Regions from separate parts of the Homo sapiens genome. Here region 2 is linked to region 1. The links are contacts of gene promoters, found by promoter capture Hi-C in blood cells and fetal thymus (Javierre and others, 2016). All regions are on one chromosome and are shown on one strand. The core of a region is centred on a gene start or on the middle of the fragment in contact, and the rest is flanking DNA. Distances in the headings are between cores, read along the strand shown.

Region 1 (5,985 bases), core at 1,253-3,752:
TCTATTTTGATCATTTTCTGTATGCATGCTTTTTATTTTAGGCCTCCAGAAATCATCATTGGAAGGAGCATGCTTCATTTGACTTGACTTGGATTGGATACGAAGTCATCAAATGGTGAGAAGAGGGAGTCAAGATCTTCCTTGGAGCTTCAGTGGTGTAAATGTCAGAGGTGTTTGAACCAGAGCAACTTCATCTTGAATAGGGGCTGGGTAAAATGAGGCTGAGATCTGCTGGGCTGCATTCCCAGACAGTTAAGGCATTCTATGTCACAGGATGAGATAAGAGGTCGGCACAAGCTACAGGTCATAAAGACCTTACTGATAAAACAGTTTGCAGTAAAGAAGCTGACCAAAACCCACCAAACCAACATGGCGATGAGTGTGACCTCTGGTCGTCCCAGCTGCTACACTCCCACCAGCGCCGTAAGTTTACAAATGCCATAGCAATGCCAGGACGTTACCCTAAAGGGTTTAAAAAGGTAAGGCACGAATAATCCACCCCTTGTTTAGCATATCATCAAGAAATAACCACAAAAATGGGCAACCAGCAGCCCATGCTGCTCTGCCTATGGAGTAGCCATTCTTTATTCTGTTACTGGTGGAGGGTGTCCAGGTTCTTGGCATCTTGAACAAAGAATTGGACAAAATGCACAAAGCCACCGGGCGCGGTGGCTCACACCTATAATCCCAGCACTTTGGGAGGCCGAGGCGGGCAGATCACCTGAGGTCAGGAGTTCAAGACCAGCCTGGCCAACATGGCGAAACCTCGTCTCTACTAAAAACACAAAAGTTAGCCGGGCATGGTGACGCACGTCTGTAATCTCAGCTACTCAGGAGGCTGAGGCAGGAGAATTGCTTGAACCCGGGAGGCAGAGGTTGCAGTGAGGATCACGCCACTGCACTCCAGCATGGACAACAGAGACTCTGTCTCAAAAAAAAAAAAATGCACAAAGCAAAAAAAGAATGAAGCAACAAAAGCAGAAATTTTTTGAAAATGAAAGTACATTCCATGGTGTGGGGGCGGCCAAAGCATAGAGGCTCAGGGCCCCATTACAGAACTTGTGAGGTTTAAATACCCTCTAGGGGTTTCTACTGGTTACTTGGTGTACGCCCTATGTAAATAAAGAGGATGAAATAAAGTTACAAAATCATTTACTCAGTGTACACCCTATGGAGAGGGTATTTCCTGTCATAGCTGAAGTGTTCCCTGCCTCCAGACCCTGTTTTCCTGCCTCAATTCCTTTACTTTTCTAATAAACTTGCTTTCACTTTGTGGACTCGCCCTCAATTCTCTCTTGGGGTCTGGATCGGGACCCCTTTCTGGTAATATAGACAGAAAATACGGCCTTGACATGGTTGTCAGGAAACGACAGTAAGGCCTCCGAGGGTGGGGTTCTGAAGGGATGTTAAACGCCCCACCCCGAGGAAGGCTCTGGAGGCTCCAATCACTTTCAGCCTCTGCTACCAAGATGTCCGACCCTACCAATAAAACTTCCAGCAGCGGGGCGCGGTGGCTCACGCCTGTAATCCCAGCACTTTGGGAGGCCGAGGAAGGCAGATCACCTGAGGTCAGGAGTTCAAGACCAGCCTGACCGACATGGTGAAACCCCATCTCTACTAAAAATTTAAAAAGTTAGCCGGGCCTGGTGGCGCACGCCTGTAATCCCAGCTACACAGGAGGCTGAGGCAGGAGAATTGCTTGAACCAGGGAGGCGGAGGCTGCAGTGAGCCGAGATCGCGCCACTGCACTCCAGCCTGGGTGACACAGCAAGACTCCGTCTCAAACAAAACAAAACAAAAAACCTTCCAGCTTGGAGAAACTGAGAGTGAGCAGTAGGGAGTGAGGGGGTCCCTGGGAGGAACCAGAACTCATCCCGCTTCAGGGTGGGGCTGGCCCCCTTCTTGGCCTTGGCCGGGGCTTCGTGTCACGGAGCGCCCGAGGGACGGTCGGAGCCCACCCCAGCCCGCCCGCCGCCTGAGCCTGGCCGAGCTCTCTGCACCTGCACACGTCTGTAAAACGCGGATGAAACGCTTCTACGGAACCGGGTGGCTGAGATGAAGTGAGTTATGGGTATAAAGCGCTTAGAGCGATGCCTGGCGGACACTCGGTGCCAAATAAGCGTTCGCTGTGGCGACGATGACGCCTCCAGCCCAAAGCCCGTGGTCGAGCAGGGCCGGGCTCCCAGCGCTAGGGGGTTCCTAGGCGCGGCGCTTCGGGGGTCCTGGACACAGACACGGGGGACAGAGCTCCTACCAGCGACGATCCCGAGGGTCTGCAGCAGAGGGGCTGAGGCCCGGGACGGGGGTGGTCGCAGCGCCCTTTCCTGAAAAAACGGGGTTCGGCTCTAAGGCGCCCCCAAGCCCTGCCGGCAGCGCGGAACCCGAGCCGCTCAGAAGCCCGGGAGCCCCAAGTCTCCGGGACCAGAAGCGCCGCGGCCCTGACTTCCGGAAGGTGGACGGAACCCGCGGACGGGGCGGGCCCGCGTGGCGCACGCAGAGCCACTTCCGGGCGCGGCGCCGGCTTGGTGAGCGCGGGTACCCGCGGGCTTCCCCGGGCGGCTGCGTCCCCAGTAGCCCGGCCGGCCTCGGCACCGCGTGTCGTGGGGGTCCCGGGCCGCGGCTGCAGGGCCGGGGCGGCGGCGAGGCCGAGGGGCGGGAAGCCACTGCCCGGCCTGGCAGTGTGAACGTGCAAGTCGATCCCCTAACCCAGAAAGCCCCAGGCGCGGTCTCTATGGGCGGCCCCGCTCCTGCTTCTGTTTTATTTTTTTACGGACAGGGTCTCGCTCTACCGCCCGGGTTGTAATGCAATGGTGTGATCACGGCTCACCGCAGCCTCGACCTCCCGGGCTGAAGCGATCTTCCCGCCTCAGCCTCCTGAGTAACTGGGACCACAGGCGCGCCCTGCTGGTTTTTTTTTTTTTTTTTTTTGGTAGAGATGGGGGTCTCGCTATGTTGGCCAGGCTGGTCTCGAATTCCTGGCCTCAACGATCGTCCTGTCTCGGCCTCCCAAAGTGCCGGGATGACAGGCATGAGCCACCGCGCCTGGCCCCTTCTTTTGAATGGGCCTCCTTGCGTTTCCGTTTCAATGCCCCGTGCTACTTTTTTGGGAGCCCCAAGGCTGTACTGTTTGATTGACTCCTTTTTTTCCCCTTTCTTTTTAACCTAAATTAAAGCTGCCACTGCAGAGCCCCGCCATGGAAGACACGCCGTTGGTGATATCGAAGCAGAAGACGGAGGTGGTGTGCGGGGTCCCCACCCAGGTGGTGTGTACGGCCTTCAGCAGTCACATCCTGGTGGTGGTGACCCAGTTTGGGAAGATGGGCACCCTGGTCTCCCTGGAGCCCAGCAGCGTGGCCAGTGACGTCAGCAAGCCTGTGCTCACCACAAAAGTCCTTCTGGGGCAGGATGAGGTAAAGTGGATTGGCCGGGAACTGTGGCTCACGCCTGTAACCCTAGCACTTTCAGAGGCCTAGGCGGGCAGATCGCTTGAGGCCAGGAGTTTGAAACCAGCCTGGGCAACACAACAACACACACACAAGTCACTACAAAAAAACAAGTGCCTACACAAAATATATATATAGAGAGAGGCTGGGTGCAGTGGCTCACACCTGTAATCCCAGCACTTTGGGAGGCTGAGGCGGGCAGATCACTTAAGGTCAGAAGTTCCAGACCAGCCTGGCCAACATGGGGAAACCCCATTTCTACGAAAAATATAAAAATTAGCTGGGTGTGGTGGCACATGCCTGTAATCTCAGCTACTCAGGAGGCTGAGGCAGAAGAATCGCTTGAACCCGAGAGGCGGAGGTTGCAGTGAGCTAAGATCGTGCCACAGCACTCCAGCCTGGGTAACAGATAGAGACTTGGTCTTAAAAAAAAAAGGAAAAGAAAAGGAAACAAAAAATTAGCTGGGCCTAGTGGTGTGTGCCTGTGCTCCCAGCTACTTGGGAGGCTGAGGTGGGAGGATGGCTTGAGCCCTGGAGGTTGAGGCTGCAGTGAGCCATGATTGTGCCACTGCGCTCCAGCCTGGGTGAGAGAGCAAGACTCTGTCTTTAATAATAATAATAATAATAATAATAATAAAGTGGTCAGGAAGGGACCCCCAGGGAGGAGCATAAACCTCTCCAGTGGCTGTGATTTGTCAGTAAGGACATGGGGCATCTGGCGGACAAATACCCCTACAGCGATAGCATTTTCCGGGCATTTGTGGGTCTCAAGGCGCCCTGCTTGCCCTCAGTGGATGCTTTGTCCAGCCCGCAGGCATTTTATCCAGCAGACAAGCAGAAGCAGCAGTTTTGTCATTCGAGCCGCCTCCCCTGCCATGGTACATTACGTGAGCAGGCGGCTGGCTGTGCTGTGCTCTGTGGAGATCACACGTGAGATTCGACAGCACTCGCTTCTGCAGGCTTCTCTTTCCTGGGTTCTTTTAGATGAGAGAGAGCCAGAAGAGGCGGGGCTGCGGAAGGCGCTGGGAAAATGAATGGAGTGATGGTCTTTAGCAGTGTGCCCGTGACTGGAGTGTTCTGAGTGCTGCCAGAACTCTGAGTCACAGTTGCATGGACTTATGTGGCGGTTAATGGTGGTGTGGGAAGCCTGCCTGGGTTCCTAAGGGATACTTCATGAAAGCATTGAGGAAAAAACCAGGTTTCTTGCAGTTAAAATGGTTTCTTCTCCTTCCTTTACCAGCCTCTCATCCATGTCTTTGCAAAGAACCTGGTAGCGTTTGTGTCTCAAGAAGCTGGAAACAGAGCAGTCCTCCTCGCCGTGGCCGTGAAGGACAAAAGCATGGAGGGGCTGAAGGCGCTGAGGGAGGTGATCCGGGTGTGCCAGGTGTGGTGACCTGGAGGCAGCCGCCCCGCGCTGCTCAGCAGGACACGTGAACACCCAGACACCCACTCAGGGACTCAAGTCTCACCTCCCTCCCCGGTGGAGGGAGGAACTTTGGCACTAGCCCTTGGAGCCAGGAAAAAAGACTCGTGTCTCAGGCAGACTCTTACTCTGGTTACTAAGATCATCTGTGCATGACGGGGAGGGTGGAACAGGTCCCGGAGGAGTCGTGAATGGTTCTCACCAGGACCTGAATCGTTGCTTGTGTTTGAGAATTGGAGGAATGAGTCAGCAGGCGTGGCTCATGGCCCCCCCGTGTGCAGGATCAATTGTAGGAGGAAATTTCTTTTTTATTAAAAGCGAATGTGTATCCCAAAATACTTCACTGTCCTCCTTAACAGTAGCGAGACATTGCAGCCGCACAGCATGAGTTCAGTTTCATGGGCTTCATGAAGGGAAGCTTGTTGGGCAGAAACGCAGAGGGACGTAGTTCCCAGGAACTGGGTGGATCCCATGCTTGGGCCTGTGCACGCTGTCACCCAGCTCCAACTCCAGTAACTTCTCTGAGCCTGCTGGGAAGCTGGTGGCCGTCAGCGGACATCTCTTACTATCTTAATGTGTGTGCCCGTTACCGTGCTGCAGCTGGGGACAGACGCTGTCCTCTGAATCCTGCATAGCAAGGGAGGGGGGACGCTTCTGTCAAGGGAGCAGCGTGCACAGAGGTCAGGAGAGAGGAGCACGGGAGGGCAGGGCACTGTGGGGTGGGTCGCCAGGGTTCACTGGGGTGTGGCTGAACATGACCTCCGTGTGGGGGTAGGCGCGGGTCCTTCTGGGCTGAGGCTGCAGGACTTAGTCTTGTGGGGAGCAGTGTTGGCAGGCGTGGGCCTCAGGGTGGCATTTACAGCCCTGATAAGTGGCAGCCTGGGCCCCGCCTGGCTCTCCCTCCAGCCACTGCGAGGGACGCTTCGCTGATCCTGCCTGAGTTGGGATTTCTGAGGCTGGAAGTCGGAGCTTTGGACCCCTTCACTCTGACAGTCTCACGAGAAACAGCAGCAACTGGAGAGCTGGGTTGGGTGACCGGATCCCGAAGCGGAAACCAGGCGAGGCTCTGGAGCGAAGTGAGCGCCCAGTGGGCCCTTCCAGGGAGTTGGGGGTTTACTG
Region 2 (5,985 bases), core at 2,018-4,517, 740 kb before region 1:
AGCTCTGGAGGGTTGGTAGACAGTTTCTTCGTCGGCGAGAAACGGCAGCGGGGAGCAGGGGAGGGATTGTTGCATTTGGTGGGCATCCTCGATGTGAAGACTGTGTCTAGAAAGAAGGGCCTTTCAGAATGGGTCTTCAGTTATTTTTTCCTTTCCCTTGTATCAGTGTAAGGGGAGGCACGTGATAGTTCTCGCTGATTAGAACATTGTGTCCATGAAGTCACATGTTGGAGGCCAGCGTGAGTCTCAGGCGGGACCCTTTCCGAGGGGTCACTTGGGAACAGGTAGGCTGTGATTGGATCGGAATGCTGCTGCTATCTCAGCTTGTAAAGCAATTTGGCATTGCTGGAGGGGTCCTCTGCAGGTGTAGGGGACTGTGTTTCCTTCAGGCTTCACAGAAGTAGACTCCAGAGGCTACCATAATGGTGTAATTTAGAGATAGTCTGAGCGCTGTACACCTGAGGGAGCTGTGTCTCTGGGAGACCGCCCTCCCTTTGGTGTGGCCTGGAATTCCTGTAGGTAGTTGGCTTTTTCTGGGGGCAGTGGTGATTTCATCAGGAGTGCTGATGGGATCCACAGATGGGGGTTGCTGGGACAAGGCAGTGCTTCACAGTGCCCTTTCCTGTAACCAGGCAAGTCTGAAAGTGGGGCTCACAGACTCTTGGGACGTAGACTGTCCTTCTGTTTGAAACTTGGTCGTCATCCTGGCAGGTGGGTGAAGTGGTATAGCAGGTCTTTTTTTTTTTTTCTTGAGACGGAGTCTCGCTCTGTCGCCCAGGCTGGAGTGCAGTGGTGTGATCTCGGCTCACTGCAAGCTCTGCCTCCCGGGTTCATGCCATTCTCCTGCCTCAGCCTCCCGAGTAGCTGGGACTACAGGCGCCCGCCACCACGCCCGGCTAATTTTTTGTATTTTTAGTAGAGACGGGGTTTCACCATGTTAGCCAGGATGGTCTCGATCTCCTGACCTCGTGATCTAGCCGCCTCGGCCTCCCAAAGTGCTGGGATTACAGGCGTGAGCCACCGCGCCCGGCCTCGCAGGTCTTTTTACATTGAGAAAACTAAAATCCAGAGGTAAGTAATTTGCCCAAAGTGGGCAATGTCAAGGGAATGTGTGTTGATGGGGACCCTGATTGGGTGGGCTGGAGTGAGAAAACCTCAGCCTTGAGACCAAGCACTGTGGCTCACGTCTGAAATCACAGCACTTGGGGAGGCTGAGGAGGGAGGATCGCCCGAGCCCAGGCGCTAGAGACCAGCCTGGACAACGTAGCGAAATCCTGTCTCAAATTTTTAAAAAAGAAAACAAAAACAAAAACAGCAAAGAAAAAAGTTAAGTCTCTGAATATTGTCCGGAGACTATGTGTGTGACTTACACGTTCACTAAGGTTGGTTTGAAGGAGTGGTTGTGCCTTACGGGTATACAGTGAATTTCCTCTTCTCTAGAGTTTTGGCCACACAGCCAGAGCCCACTGGTGGTATTCATGTGGGAACTGTGAAATCTCCTGCATCTTCGGTGTTGCCAGAAAAAAATGTGCTTGTTGTACTTTTCCACATTAAGAGTCTCATTCTATTTGAATTCTTTGAAGCTTAAGCTGTGAATGCTCTCTAGGGCAACCCTCTTTATAAAAACTTAATTTTCAGTTATGCCATACATGGACAAATGTATTTTCTTTAAAAAAGAATAGAACATTGTAGATTAAGTGAAAGTCCCATCCTAATTGCCATCATCTCCTGTCTGTACCTGAGAGGTGACCATTGTTCTCAGTTTGGGATGGACCGTTTTAGTTCTGTTTTCACATTTTATTCATATATGTACTCAGGAAACATATACTTCCTTATATAAGTGTGCTCATGTTTCCCTAGCGTAGTATATTCTCTAGCTTTCTTTTGTTCCTTTTATTTTTATTTATTTATTTTTTTGAGACGTAGTTTCACTCTTTTGCCCAGGCTGGAGTGCAGTGGTGCGATCTTGGCTCACTGCAAGCTCCACCTCCTGGGTTGACGCCATTCTTCTTTCTGCCTCAGCCTCCTGAGTAGCTGGGACTACAGGTGCCTGCCACCACACCTGACTAATTTTTTGTATTTTTAGTAGAGATGGCATTTCACCGTGTTAGCCAGGTTGGTCTTGATCTCCTGACCTCATGATCTGCCTGCCTCGGCCTACCAAAGTGCTGAGATTACAGGGGTGAACCACTGCGCCCAGCCACGCCTGGCCAATTTTTAAAATTTTTTGTAGAGACAGTCTGGCTGTGTTGCCCAGGCTGGTGTGGAACTCCTGGCCTCAAGCAATCCTCCCACCCGGGCCTCCCAAAGTGCTGGGATTTCAGGCATGAGGCACCGAGCCTGGCTGGATTTTATATTGAAACTATTCCTGTCAAAATATCTGATTGACCGGAACATTCTGTCCTCTGACTATGCAGGATAAGGGTTTTTTTCAGGGCCTGTTCTTAGGTCATGAAGCTCAATGATTGTGACATCCAGCGAGAACGGCAGTGAGTGTGGTAAGTGTGCTTGGTCGTCCAGCCTGATTTCTCGGGATCGATTAATACATGGATAGAAATATGTACAGATGACCACGGCGTATCCTGGCTCTGCCGTATACAGTCCTGCGGCCCTACATTGACTCTTTAGAACGAGGGTGAGTCACGCTTCACTTGCGGCTCATCCCATGGCATTCCATACATTCCATTCGGTTCGGAAGCTCCGTGCTGTTTGTCCGCGTTGACCTGGCGATGACTCCTTGAGTGTCATTGAGGCAGGTCCAGGGCCTTTGCTGACCCTCGGGGCTCCTTCACCCCTGCCCCGAGCCTTCCCCTCTTGCCTGGGCGACTTCCATGCACCCTGGGCTCCCATCAACCCTTACCTGCAGCTGCTCGCTCATGTCAGGTCTGTTCTCTGTGTGAATACGTTGGTCAGAATTCATTGCGCTGTCACTTAAAGTTTATACTTTTTTTTTTTTGAGATGGAGTCTCGCTCTTGTTGTCCAGGCTGGAGTGCGATGGCGCGATCTCGGCTCACCGCAACCTCCTCCTCCCGGGTTCAAGCAATTCTCTTGCCTCAGCCTCCTGAGTAGCTGGGATTACAGGCATGCGTCACCACACCTGGCTAATTTTGTATTTTCAGTAGAGACGGGGTTTCTCCATGTTGGTCAGGCTGGTCTCGAACTCCCAACCTCAGGTGATCTGCCCACCTTGGCCTCCCAAAGCACTGGGATTACAGGCGTGAGCCACCGCGCCCGGCTGGTTCTGGTGATTCTTGTGCCTCAGCCTCCCCAGTAGCTGGGATTACAGGCGTGTGCCACCACACCTGGCTAATTTTTGTATTTTTAGTAGAGACGAAGTTTCGCCATGTTGGCCAGGAAGGATGATCTCAAACTCCTGACCTCATGTGATCCACTTGCTTTGGCCTCCCAAAGTGCTGGGATTACAGGGGTGATCCACCCCACTGGGCCTATTTATACATTTTGAGCAGGGTGTGGTGGCTCACACCTGTAATCCTAACACTTTGGGAGGTTAAGGCAGGAGGATCACTTCAGGCCAGGAGTTTGAGGCCAGCCTGGGCAATAGAGTGAGACCCCATCCCTATTTAAAAAAAAGATTTGTGTCTGGGCCTGGTGGTTCACGCCTGTAATCCCAGCACTTTGGGAGGCCGAGGTGGGCGGATCACCTGAGGTCAGGAATTCAAGACCAGCCTGGCCAACATGGTGAAACCCCGTCTGTACAAAAATCCAATAATTAGCTGGGCATAATGGCGAGTGCCTGTAATCCCAGCTACTCGGGAGGCTGAGGTGGGAGAATTGCGTTAACCTGGGAGGCAGAGGTTGTAGAGGTTGTAGTGAGCCGAGATGGTGCCGCGCTGCAGCCTGGTTGACAGAACAAGACTCCAGCTCAAAAAAAAAAAAAAAAAAAAATTTGTTCATTTTATGGTGATTAAATTATGCCCCACAGTATTGTTTGCATTAGGGACAAAACCTTCTGCCCCATTTCGCTCCCTTCCATGACCCTTTTTTTTTTTTTTTTTTTTTTGAGACAGAGTCTCACTCTGTTGCCCAGGCTGGAGTGCAGTGGTGCCATCTAGCCTCACTGCAACCTCCATCTCCTAGGTTCAAGTGACTCCTGCCTCAGTCTCCCCCGTAGTTGGGATTACAGGCGTGTGCCACCATGCCCAGCTAATTTTTGTATTTTTAGTAGAGTCGGGGTTTTACCATGTTGACCAGGCTGGTCTCGAACTCCTGACTTCAGGTGATCCGCCCGCTGCAGCCTCCCAAAGTGCTGGGATTACAGGTGTGAGCCACCGTGACTGGCCATGACACATATTTTGGTAGTAAACTCCTGATGAGCAAACTTATTTTTATTTTTTTTACAAGTTTATTTTGTTTATATAGTTTTGTTACTTTTTTCTTTTTTTAATTCTGGCTCTCTCCAGAAAACAGAAACCTATTTTTCTTTAACCACAGTATCTAGAATACTATCTGCTATGTAGCAGAGTCTCAAATATTTGAATAGAATTACATTTTTATAAATTTTTGTATTATATTTCTTATGTGATAAGACTTGACAACACTGCAAATATGTTTTGTTACTGGTCTTTAAACTTGCTCATCCTCTCTCTCTCTCTGTCTCTCTCTCACACACACACACACGCACACATACACAATTTGCAAGGTAAAACGTGTCAATTTGAAGAAAGAGGAACTAACTGAATCACTGTTATGTAGAACAGATTTTGCCAGAATTTGTGGTTAGCAAGAAAGTGATGTGTTCCGGGTAGGGGAATTCTGTTTTGGTATTATTTTGTCTTTCCTGAGAAAAGCATCACAAAAAGAGATGTTTGCCCATCCTGTTTGCTGGGGTAGTGGGAAGAGACCGGGGGTGATGGTGGTGCTGGCTGGACGTGGGTGGTTTCACAGGACCTGCTGTGTCTGAGAGGAGCCATGCGGTGATTAGAAGCTTGGAGGCTGCAGGTAGGAGGCACAGAGCCCGAGAGTGCATGGAGAGCCTGGCTGTCGGTCTCCAGCATTGTCACTGTCACCTTTTTTTTTTTTTTTTTTTTTTTTGGAGACAAAGTTTTTGCTCTTGTTGCCCAGGCTGGAGTGCAATGGTGCGATCTCGGCACACTGCACCCTCCGCCTCCCGGGTTCAAGCGAGTCTTCTGCCTCAGCCTCCCGAGTAGCTGGGATTACACGTGTCCACCACCGCACCTGGCTAATTTTTGTATTTTTAGTAGAGATGGGGTTTCACCATGTTGGCCAGGCTGGTCTCGAACTTGGAACCTCAGTGATCCCCCCGCCTTGGCTTCCCAAAGTGCTGGGATTACAGGCGTGAGCCACTGCACCTGGTCCATTGTCATCCTCTGAGAAACTGGAGCGCGGCCACGCTCTGCATATTTCTACTATAGAATCACCAAAAAAAAAAAAATCACATAACCAGACTTAAAGGGCAGAAGTGCTTTGTGAGAAGTGTTTTTGGGAAAATATTGGCATTAAAATATCAGGTAGGGTCCCTTTTGGGAGGACTGAGGAGGGGTGTGTGTTCAGCTCCGGGAGGATCTGGTCTGCCCTTCCTGCTGTTTTCTGTTGACTGGGTGGGAGGAGGCACTTTGCTGTTTCTGTTGTGTGTAGCAGGGGTTTAATGGGGGTCTTTTTAGCTCCCTATAAGCATTTTGAAGTTTGTGTGTTATGGAAATCTGAAGTGAAATTACACAAAGTTTGATTAACCCCAGGAAGTACTGTAGGGGCCGGAGAAACTCAGGTTAGGTAATATCTTTCAAGAAGCCCAGTTACGTTATTTTCCAGGAATCTTCCAAAACCTGATTTGTGCGGGTGTCCACCAGGAGCCTGATGAGTGAGTTGTCATCAGACCCAGTAATGCGCTGTTGTTGTGTGAATTGGTGCTTTCAGAAAATTTTGTTATACAAGTGATACAACCACAATCGCAAAAATTTCATAGACAAATCACCTGTAGTTCCACCCCTTTTAACAGCCGTTGC

Evidence for each region. The method cuts DNA at HindIII sites, captures the fragments that hold promoters and counts their contacts. A CHiCAGO score of 5 or more calls a contact.
Region 2: a contact is called between a fragment that was not itself captured here and the fragment with the promoter of PSMG3 in region 1, in 5 of 17 cell types (naive CD8 T cells, M0 macrophages, total CD4 T cells and 2 more). The highest score is 7.5, in naive CD8 T cells.

Annotation. Positions count from the first base shown.
Region 1 is chr7:1,566,549-1,572,533 of GRCh38, reverse strand. PSMG3 (proteasome assembly chaperone 3) reads left to right here and starts at 2,502. Exons shown (of 2, transcript NM_032302.4): 1 at 2,502-3,410; 2 at 4,684-5,202. The coding sequence starts at 3,195. The coding sequence ends at 4,836. It overlaps PSMG3-AS1 (PSMG3 antisense RNA 1), which reads right to left and starts at 2,461. Exons shown (of 5, transcript NR_027329.1): 1 at 2,255-2,461. RefSeq lists enhancers at 1,451-1,500, 1,511-1,580, 2,204-2,772, 4,479-5,047, 4,927-5,221 and 1 more and silencers at 1,881-1,960, 2,401-2,830. The HindIII fragment of the contact is 7,479 bases long and covers 1-5,286 here.
Region 2 is chr7:2,306,703-2,312,687 of GRCh38, reverse strand. All of the region lies in intron 1 of SNX8 (sorting nexin 8), which reads left to right. Among named protein-coding and RNA genes, the nearest start is that of SNX8, 4.7 kb to the left of the region's middle. RefSeq lists enhancers at 1-17, 58-137, 1,680-2,188, 2,189-2,699, 2,700-3,209 and 3 more. The HindIII fragment of the contact is 3,363 bases long and covers 1,586-4,948 here.